Regions from separate parts of the Homo sapiens genome. Here region 2 is linked to region 1. Evidence: promoter capture Hi-C in human tissues and cell types (Jung and others, 2019). All regions are on one chromosome and are shown on one strand. Each heading gives the region's core, a stretch centred on a gene start or on the middle of the fragment in contact. The rest is flanking DNA. Distances are from core to core; before and after follow the strand shown. Region 1 holds the start of DEGS2 (delta 4-desaturase, sphingolipid 2). Region 2 overlaps EML1 (EMAP like 1).

Evidence for each region. Contacts are between HindIII fragments. The study calls those that stand out against the background at their distance.
Region 2: a fragment that was not itself captured here is called in contact with the fragment with the promoter of DEGS2 in region 1 in 2 of the 25 tissues and cell types used here (IMR-90 fibroblasts and liver).

What each region holds. Positions count from the first base shown.
Region 1 is chr14:100,157,723-100,162,534 of GRCh38, forward strand. DEGS2 (delta 4-desaturase, sphingolipid 2) reads right to left here and starts at 1,923. Exons shown (of 3, transcript NM_206918.3): 1 at 1,784-1,923. The coding sequence starts at 1,865. LOC124903380 (a long non-coding RNA gene) reads left to right here and starts at 2,315. Exons shown (of 2, transcript XR_007064330.1): 1 at 2,315-2,409; 2 at 3,586-3,992. RefSeq lists silencers at 1,710-1,769, 1,870-2,269. The HindIII fragment of the contact is 21,272 bases long and covers 1-4,812 here.
Region 2 is chr14:99,840,753-99,845,382 of GRCh38, forward strand. All of the region lies in intron 1 of EML1 (EMAP like 1), which reads left to right. Among named protein-coding and RNA genes, the nearest start is that of EML1, 50 kb to the left of the region's middle. The HindIII fragment of the contact is 5,012 bases long and covers 1-4,164 here.

The DNA.
Region 1 (4,812 bases), core at 673-3,172:
TATCTTGGGTTTCAAACATTTAAAAGTCATGGTATCTCAGTATGCTGCCATGGGATTAAAAAAAGAGGAAGAAAGAAAAAGTTGGCTGGGCGCAGTGGCTCACACCTGTAATCCCAACAGTTTGGGAGGCAGAGGCGGGTGAATCACCTGAGGTCAGGAGTTTGAGACCAGCCTAGCCAACATGGTGAAACCCCATCTCTACTACAAATACAAAATTAGCCGGGTGTGGTGGCGGGTGCCTGTAATCCCAGCTACTCAGAAGGCTGAGGCAGGAGAATCGCTTGAACCTGGGAGGCGGAGGTTGCGGTGAGTGGAGATCGCATCACTGCACTCCGGTCTGGGCGACAGAGCAAGACTTCCTCTCAAAAAAAAAAAAAAAAAAAAAAAAAGTTGTTCAGGCCAGGCGTGGTGGCTCATGGCCCATGCCTGTAGTCCCAACACTTTGGGAGGCTGAGATGGGTGGATCCCTCGAGCTCGGAAGTTTGAGACCAGCCTGGGCAACATGGCAAGACCCTGTTTCTAGTAAAAATACAAAAAAAATAGCCGGGCATAGTGGTACACACCTGCAGTCTCAACTACTCAGGAGGCTGAGGTAGGAGGATCAGTTGAGCCCAGTGGGGAGAGGTTGCAGTGAGCTAAGATCGCGCCTAGCCAACATGGTGAAACTCCATCTCACTACAAATACAAAAATTAGCCGGGTGTGGTGGCAGGTGCCTGTAATCCCAGCTACTCAGAAGGCTGAGGCAGGAGAATCGCTTGAACCTGGGAGGCGGGGGTCGCAGTGAGCCGAGATCGCGAGACTCTGTCTCTAAATAAATAAATTAATTAAATTAAATAAAACGCCCGATTAAAATGTGAAACCTCCATCAAATAAGTGCAAATTAAAGCCACAGTGAAATGGTATTGTTTCCCCAATCTGACTGAAGATTACAAAGTGTGGCAACGCGCGGTGCTGACTTAGGCAGGGCGGGAGGGGCGGGCCTGTCTCAGCCTGTGGCGATTTGGTGGCATCTGGCAAAAGCCACTCTCCAGACGCAGGCCCTTTAACCCCGTAAGCCCGGGCCAAGGACGACTCACCGGGGCCACCTTGCTTGTGGGTGGGATGGGGCCTCTGGCATGAACGAGAGTGACTCCGAGTGGGTAAAGATGCCCTCCTCGCAGAGGACACGAAGCAACAAGGAAAACAGCCACCACGTAATAAGCGACATGCCAGAATAGAAGGATTCTTTAGTACAATCTTTGCTTTTTTCAAAGAAAACACGCGCGCCTCTCATTCGCGTTTGCTCCCTTCCCGGCGCTCATCCGCCCTGAACTCCAGCCTGGGGCGCCCGTGGCCGCGAGACCCAGGGGCTCTGAGCGCAGCAGGCGCCCAGTGACTGCGGGTGGAGGCCCCGCGTCGCGCAAGCTGCCTCCGCGCCAGGGAGCGCGTGCGCCTCGTAGCGCGTCCCGGGGCCGCCCCTGCGCCCTCGCGTCCCAGCATCCCAGAGCCCCGGCCCTGGCCCCGGGAGTGGCTCGCGAGGAACAGCTGGGACGCGCTCCCTGGCGCTCGGACCCGTACTGGGGTCCTCGGAATCCTCAGGTCCCAGGGAGTTTCAGACCCGGCCAGGGTGGGGGACCCTCGGGGAGCCGGCCGGGGACCCCAGGGAGGGGAGCGGCAATGGCGGAACGCCCACTGGAATTTGGGCCAGAGCTGGAGCGGCCCGTCTGGGCTCGACCCCACGACGCGACTCCAGACGGGCCAACGGGGCGGTCCCCACCGGGGTGGGCCCCGCGCGGCGCTCACCCAGTATCTCCTTGCGCCGCTGCGTGTGCGGCTGGTCGGTGTAGACCCACTCGAAGTCGCTGCGGCTCGCGCTGTTGCCCATGGTGGGGCGGGAGGCGCCGTTCGGAGCGCGGCCGGCTCGGCTCTGCTGCACCTGTCGCGGCGGCCGCGGCGCGGAACCAGCTCTGATTAGGGCGGGGGCGGGGTCCCGGCGGGGCGGGGCCAGGTGCGCCAGGCTTGGGGCGGGGCACCTCTGGCTGGGCGGGGCGGCCGGGCCCCGGCGCTCTCCAGACCCCGGCGGGTAGCTGGCGCTTTGGGAACCTCAGTTGCCTCGGTTGGAAATGGGGCTCCCCGGCAGGACCGAGGTGGCCGCGTGCCATCTGCGCGAGTCCCTGGGTCCCTCGATGCGCGGGGGCGACTGCTGCCACCGCGGCCTCCCACCGGCTCTGCGCGCCCCGCCCACCCGCGGGCAGCCGTCGGGTTTTTACCCCGGCCCGTTCTCTCCGCAGCCCCGACCCGCTCGCGGGCACGCCCCTGTGGCTCGCGCCGCCCCTGCCCCAAGGAGGAGCGGCTGGCAGGATAGGGGGACTGCGGAGGATCGGCGTGGAATGGATGCGACGGTGCCAGTAAACAGGCGCCGAGGAAAGGTTGGTGCAGCAATCCTCCCTTCCTCCACCCGGCCCTTTCACCAATAATGCAAAGGGGAGATAATGCGTCTGCAGCAACCTCACAGGGATGAGTCAGACCCACTCCTGCCTTCAGGGAACTTGAGTTCTGGATGGGGACACAGGTACAGAAGTGGCTGTTATGATTCAGGGTGATACGTGCCATGACACAGGTAGGCCCTGAAGCAGCTAGGATCCAATAGAAGGAACTTTTGCATTGGGCCTTGAGGGGTGGGTAGGAGTTCAACAGCTAGAAAAGGGAAAGGCATTGGTGCTAGGGGGAACAGCAGATGCAAACGCTTGGAAACAAGGCAGAACCTGAATGTTCTCAAATGGAAAGTCTAGTTTTGGGGAGGTAAGGGCACAGGGCCCCTCATCTTCACCCTCTCAGTGATGCCTCTGTTCCTTCTCCCACTCCCTTGGAGTTTTGGAGGGTGGACCTGCTGTGCCTGTGGGCCAGAGCCTGGCCTCGGCTGGCAGTTGCCTGGGAGCTGACTGACACATCAGCCAGCGCTGCCACAGGCTCGCACATAGTGAGGGCGTGCTTCTGTGCGTCCCATGGAAGTCCATGGCCCGGGGTTTGGTACACTTGGCAGGCCTTCCTTAGCTCAGGGCCAAAGGCAGTCCTGAGTGAGCCAGGAAGGAAGGCATGGGTGTCCTGCAGCCGCCAGCCACCATCCCCTGAATTAGCCATGGGAAAGGTGGACACAGAGGCCAGATTTTCCATCAGCAGGGGGACCCACATGCCACCATGGCCATCACCCCTTGCCACACCCAGGAGGCCTCCCGGCCCAGCTTGCACCCTTGGGAGAAGACTCATTGCTCCCAGGGCAGCCTGCTCTGTTCCCAGCCAGAAGGGTCCTCAGAAGTCATCCCACCAGCCATCACTTTACAGATCAGGAGACTGAGGCCCAGAGATGAGGAGCGCCTTGCCTGAGGCACAGAGGAATTAACAGCAAGGCTGGGGCATGACTTTGGCCCCTGACCTTTGAATTAAAAAGCTTCCAAAATCAGAGCCTTCGCCCCTGTGTTGAACTCCGTGAGATCTGCCGCCCTGAGCCCCAGCTCCACCCTCAGGACAACACCAAGCCTGCCAGTTCCCTCTGCCCCAGGCCACCGCCTATCCAGAGGAAACTCACCAAGGCCCTCATTTTCCAGATGAGGAAACTGAGGCCAGAGAGGGGACAAGTCAGAGGACATGCTGAAGAAGACCTGGGAGTGGAACAGACACCCAGGATGCATGAAATCAAGTCTGATGCCCTTGCCAAGTGCTCCCCAAGTCCCTGGGGAGCCAGAAACCCAGCTTCACGGTGTTGACGAGCCAGGAGCACATACTGTTGCGTCCCCACCCTGTCCGTTGTCCCAGAAATGACAGAAAATACATTTTCGTTTGTAATGTGGTGTCTTGAATGGGATCCTGGAGCAGAAAAAGGACATTAGGTAAAGCTAAGGAAAGCCTAGTAAAGCTGGACCATAGTTAATCATAGTGTATCAATATTGGTCCATCAAAGGCAACAAATGCACCATATTATAAGATATTAAAATAAAGGAAACTGGGTGTGGCATATATGTGAACTTTCTAAACTATCATCACAGTTTTTCTGTAAATATAAAGCTGTTCTGAAAAATAAAGTTTATGGCCGGGCATGGTGGCTCACGCCTGTAATCCCAGCACTTTGGGAGGCTGAGGTAGGCAGATCACCTGAGCTCAGGAGTTCGAGACCAGTCTGGCCAACATAGTGAAATCCCGTCTCTACTAAAAATACAAAAATTAGCTGGGCGTGGTGGCAGGCACCTGTAATCGAGGCAGGAGAATTGCTTGAACCTGGGAGGCAGAGGTTGCAGTGAGCTGAGATTGCACCATTGCACTCCAGCCTGGGCGACAGAGCGAGACTGCATCTCAAAAAATATAAATAGGCCGGGCACGGTGGCTCACACCTGTAATCCCAGCACTTTGGGAGGCCGAGGCAGGTGGATCACGAGGTCAGGAGATCGAGACTATCCTGGCTAACACAGTGAAACCCCGTCTCTACTAAAAATACAAAAAAAATTAGCTGGGCATGGTGGCGGGCACCTGTAGTCCCAGCTACTCGGGAGGCTGAGGCAGAATGGCATGAACCCGGGAGGCGGAGCTTGCAGTGAGCCGAGTTTGCGCCACTGCACTCCAGAGCCTGGGCAACAGAGCAAGACTCCGTCTCAAAAATAAATAAATAAAAATAAATAAAATAAATAAATAAATAATAAAATAAAATGAAGTTTATTAGGCCAGGTGCAGTGGCTCACACCTGTAATCCCAGCACTTTGGGAAGTCGAGGCAGGCAGATCACCAGGCTGGTCTTGAACTCCTGGACTCAAGGAATCCACCCACCTTGGCCTCCCAAAGTG
Region 2 (4,630 bases), core at 409-2,908, 320 kb before region 1:
GAGCCTGCTCTTATCCCTGGATACTGAGATAATCACATGAATGGAGAAAAAAGCATGCTTCTCTCACCTTTTAATAGAGTGAAACACATCATGTTACCGGAAACCCTTTTGTTCTGTTTTTTACAGTAAGAGAAAAAGTAATTAAACTTCAAAGTCAGATCTGTAAATAGCTACATGAGGACCTATGGTAAAAGCAGAGCTACAAGGTCTTCTTTTTGCTTCTGAAACTGCGGGTGATGTAGGGGCTGCCCAGACCCATGGCATCCCTTGAAACTCAGAAAGAAGCCAGTGCTTGGCTGGGTTCTCATGAGAGTCAAGTTGGAGCTGGAGGCTATGAGAGGTAACACTTGGCCTGTCCTTTTGCCACTGGTCGTGTGCTGCCAAGTGGGAGGGCTCGTGTGGCATCAAACCATGCCTTATCTTAAGGCTAACATCACATTTCCTCAACTTGGCCAGAGGTGCTGCAGAGAGAGACCTGCACAGTATTTGCAGAATTTGTTCAATAATTATTGTTAATCGTTGATTTCACTGAAGATCAATGTTTGCTTTTTGCTCTTATAAACAAAACAGGAATATTCATAACAATGGATTCTAGTAAGGCTCAAGTACCATTTGTGTTGAGTGTCTGTATGCCGTCATAGTATTAGAAGTTTCATACACGCTAACATTCATCTTCACAGGAACGTCAGAAGGCAGGTGGTATTAGGTCACATAGCTAATAGGGGACAGATTAGGAATTGGCTACTGCTCAGTTTGAATCCCAAATCAGTGCTCTCTCTCTTGTGCCTCTAAAGCCCCAGGACCCAGACAGGGCAGTATAGGTAACCCTTAGCAGACTACTCTCAACAGTGTTTGGCCCTTGACAAAATGCCACAAAGTTGGAACGTGTAGCCCTGAGAAGGGTTGTTGGCAGAGGCTGCAGAGTGGCTTTCAGAGTGGTTGGCCAGCTAAGACATCTGCATCAATGCCTCGCACCACTGGGTGTTCAGTTTTCCCTCTGATTAAATCTTGTCTACCCTGTGCCCATAGAGTCAGCATGTGCTGCGAGATCACAACGTGGGAGATCGTTCCCCAATACTGAGATAGAGACACCGCCCCATAGACGCAGTTACACACTGCCATGTGTAAACAGATCAGGAAAGGAGCAGGTGCCCAGCCCAACCGGAGCTCCAGTTCACACAAAAGTTTTAGAAAACCCAAGAGGTAAAAGTTTAGAGAATATTGTCTTCTTCAAACCTCCCTCTAACACTGTAAAGTGATAATAGACAAGAATGTAAAAACTTGGGGGAAAAAAAGCTAAAGCTCAATTATTGACACTGTTTTAATGACCTCCACAGATAGATTTGAGAGGTATAGGAGCAAAAATGACTTTAAAATAAATAAGTTGTTAAAGTTTTATTGGTGCTGCATTCCCAACCTGAGGTTTTCTTTGATGAAATTCAGATGAAGTTTCACATCTTGTGCTGTGGAATCCTATGAAATGCTTAGAGATTCAAATGGTTTGTGTTGGTTAAAGCAAGCTTTAGGCTTTGTTCTTCATTATGCTAATCAGTTTTTCCCCCAGCTTAATTGAAGTGTAAAGTCATTTGAACAACACTGGTCTTTTCTGTACACAAGAAGGTTAAGAACCTCAGACAGCTCATGCTGCTGCCAAGAAGTCTCCCAGTCGTATTCTTCAGATTAATTACCTGCAGAAACAGAAGTAAGAAAATCCATTACAGGTTAAAGCAATGATTTTGGCAGGATCTGAAAAGCACTAGGATTATGTCATGGGGAAAACTTCAGCAAATCTCACAAATGGGGGCTCTCCTAAGCAGATCTGACATTTCAGTTTTTAACCATTTGTATTTGAAGGCAAATATTGAGGTGGTGGGGGTTTTTATTAAAATATTAAAATCAAACTTTTTCCTATATAAATTCAGCAATATAATTTAAATATTCTGATTTGTGCAGTTTTATTAAAGCCACTGAGACCACAGTGATGCTAAAGTTTTTGAATGCAGGGAGCAGGCCAGTCTTGCCTTACTCTGTATGTTGTTTTATAATATTGATTTGAAAATGCAAGGTTATACTACAGAGACCAACTTTTTCCTCCTCAATCCTGTGCTGGCAGCCACAATAAATGTGCTTGAGTCCCAGCAGTGAGCGTGTGTGCCTTCTCTAGAAGCTGCTGTCTGCACGAACAACCCAAAAATGTCATAGAAATGCACAGTTCTAGGCTGGGTGTGGTGGCTCATGCCTGTGTAATCCCAGCACTTTGAGACGCTGAGGCAGGATAATCGCTTGAGGCTAGGAGTTCAAGACCAGCCTGTGCAACATAATGAGACCCCATCTCTATAAAAAGTTTAAAAATTACCTAGATGTGGTGGTGTGCATCTGTACTTCCAACTACTCGGGAGGCTGAGATAGGAGGATTGTTTGAGCCCAGGTCAAGGCTCCAGTGAGCTGTAATCGCACCACTGCACTCCAGCCTGGGCAACAGAGTGAGACACTATTGCTAAAGAAAAAAAATAAATGCATGAGTCTATGCTACAGATTCTTTCATGATTTAAAAAGCAAATATTATTAATTATGCACTAATTTCTAATTATTCAGTGCTAATTTGCATAACCGTTGAGACAGCACATAGGAATTTTGTTAAACTTGGATTTGTTTTGGTAATTTTTATTGGAAACAACAATAGTAACAATAACTTAATTACAGCTTATATTTATTTATACATGCACTATATGCAAAAAGTATTCTAAGTACTCTAAATGTGTCAACTCATTTAATATTATAACAACCCTATGAAATACTCTTGTTGCACCTGTTTTATACATAGAGGCAGATAGAGATTAAGTAGTTTGTCCTAGGTCATGTAGCTAGTAAGTGGCAGAGCTGGGATTTGAACCCAGGTAGCTTGACTCCATAGTCCGTGCTCTTAAAGACTGAAGTCTATGCCTCTTCTGCCAGTGCTGTCAACACTGACTTAGCTCTAGAATGTCTTCTCCTACCTTAGTAGAACTCTCCCTGCCTTCCGCCTGAGGCCAGAGACCTTCCCAGGTAGGTGTGTGTTGACCCAGCGTCCTACACAATGGTTGTTACACCAACCTGACTCTGCCTTCTTTTATTCACACATTAGAAGATTTCACTGAACTGTTTAATTACTCCTCAGAGGGAAGACAGATATAAAATACCTTCTTATCTTCCCCACTTCTCTCTCCCAGTGGCATGACATTTTGAAGTGAGATTTTCTTTCCCTCCTATCCAAAGTCAAAGGAGAAATGGAGAAATTCCACAGAACTACTGTCCATTCACAAGAAGTTACATAGCACTTAAGGACAGTCTCTTTCCCTTGAGCAATAAGTACTTAGTTTTCATTGAAATATTTCTCTGCTGAGCTCTCATAGTATAATAGCAACCAATCCCAACAAGCAAAAATAACTTGTAAATTTGCAAAACCAGGCCAGGCGCAGTGGCTCACACCTGTAATCCCAGCACTTTGGGAGGCCGAGGCGGGCGGATCACAAGGTCAGGGGTTCAAGACCAACCTGGCCCACATAGCGAAACCCCGTCTCTACTGAAAATACAAAAATTAGCCGAGCATGGTGGTGTGTGCCTGTAGTCCCAGCTACTGGGGAGGCTGAGGCAAGAGAATCACCTGAATCTGGGAGGTGGAGGTTGCAGTGAGCTGAGATCATACCACCGCACTCCAGCTTGGGCAACAGAGTGAGACTTTGTCAAAAAAAAAAAAAAAAAATTGGCAAAACCAATGAGTGGACCTTATCTTACTTAAATGCTCATAAAATTACTTTATTTTATATGTTAACATTCAATAAAAACTGTCATTTTTGAGATAATTCTATGTGTTTTAACAAAGTATGGTTTAATGTAACAACCACCACTAAGGATATAGAACATTCCAATTACCTTCAAAATTCCCTTGTGCAGTGTCCCCAACCCAGCATTTGGCAACCACTGATCCATTCTCCTTCATTACAGTTTTGTCTTTGGAGAATGTCATATAAATGGAATAGTACAGGATGTAACCTTTTGAGATGGGCTTTCTTCATTCAGTATAATGCCTTTGAGACCCATGCAAGTTGTTTTGTGTATCAGTCATTCATCCCATTTTATTACTGAGTATATTCCATTGTATGAGTGCACCACAGTTTATCCATTCACCAGTTGAAGGGCCTTTGAGTTGTTTCCAGTTTCTATCAAGTCTGAACAGAGCCACCAGAAACATTGGCGTATCGGTTTTTGTATGAATATTGTTCATTTTTCTAGAGCAAATACTTAAGAATTGCTAGGTCATATTGGAAATATGTGTTTATAAGAAAATGGTAAACTGTTTTCCAGGGTGGTCGTGTCATTTTGTGTGCCCACCAGCAGTGGGGGAGAGTGTGTTTCATTTGCTCCATATTCTCACTGCACTTGCTTTTGTCAGCATTTTTACTTTTAACCATCCTAATAGATGTGTAATAATATCTCATTGTAGTTTTAATTTGCATTTCCATAATGACTAATGATGTTGAACATCTTTTCCTGTGCCTGCTTGTTACCTGAATAACCTCTTTGGTGGTCTATTTAAGTCTTTTGCCCATTTTTCCCCTTGCCTATTTTTAAAATTGGATTGTTTTCTCAC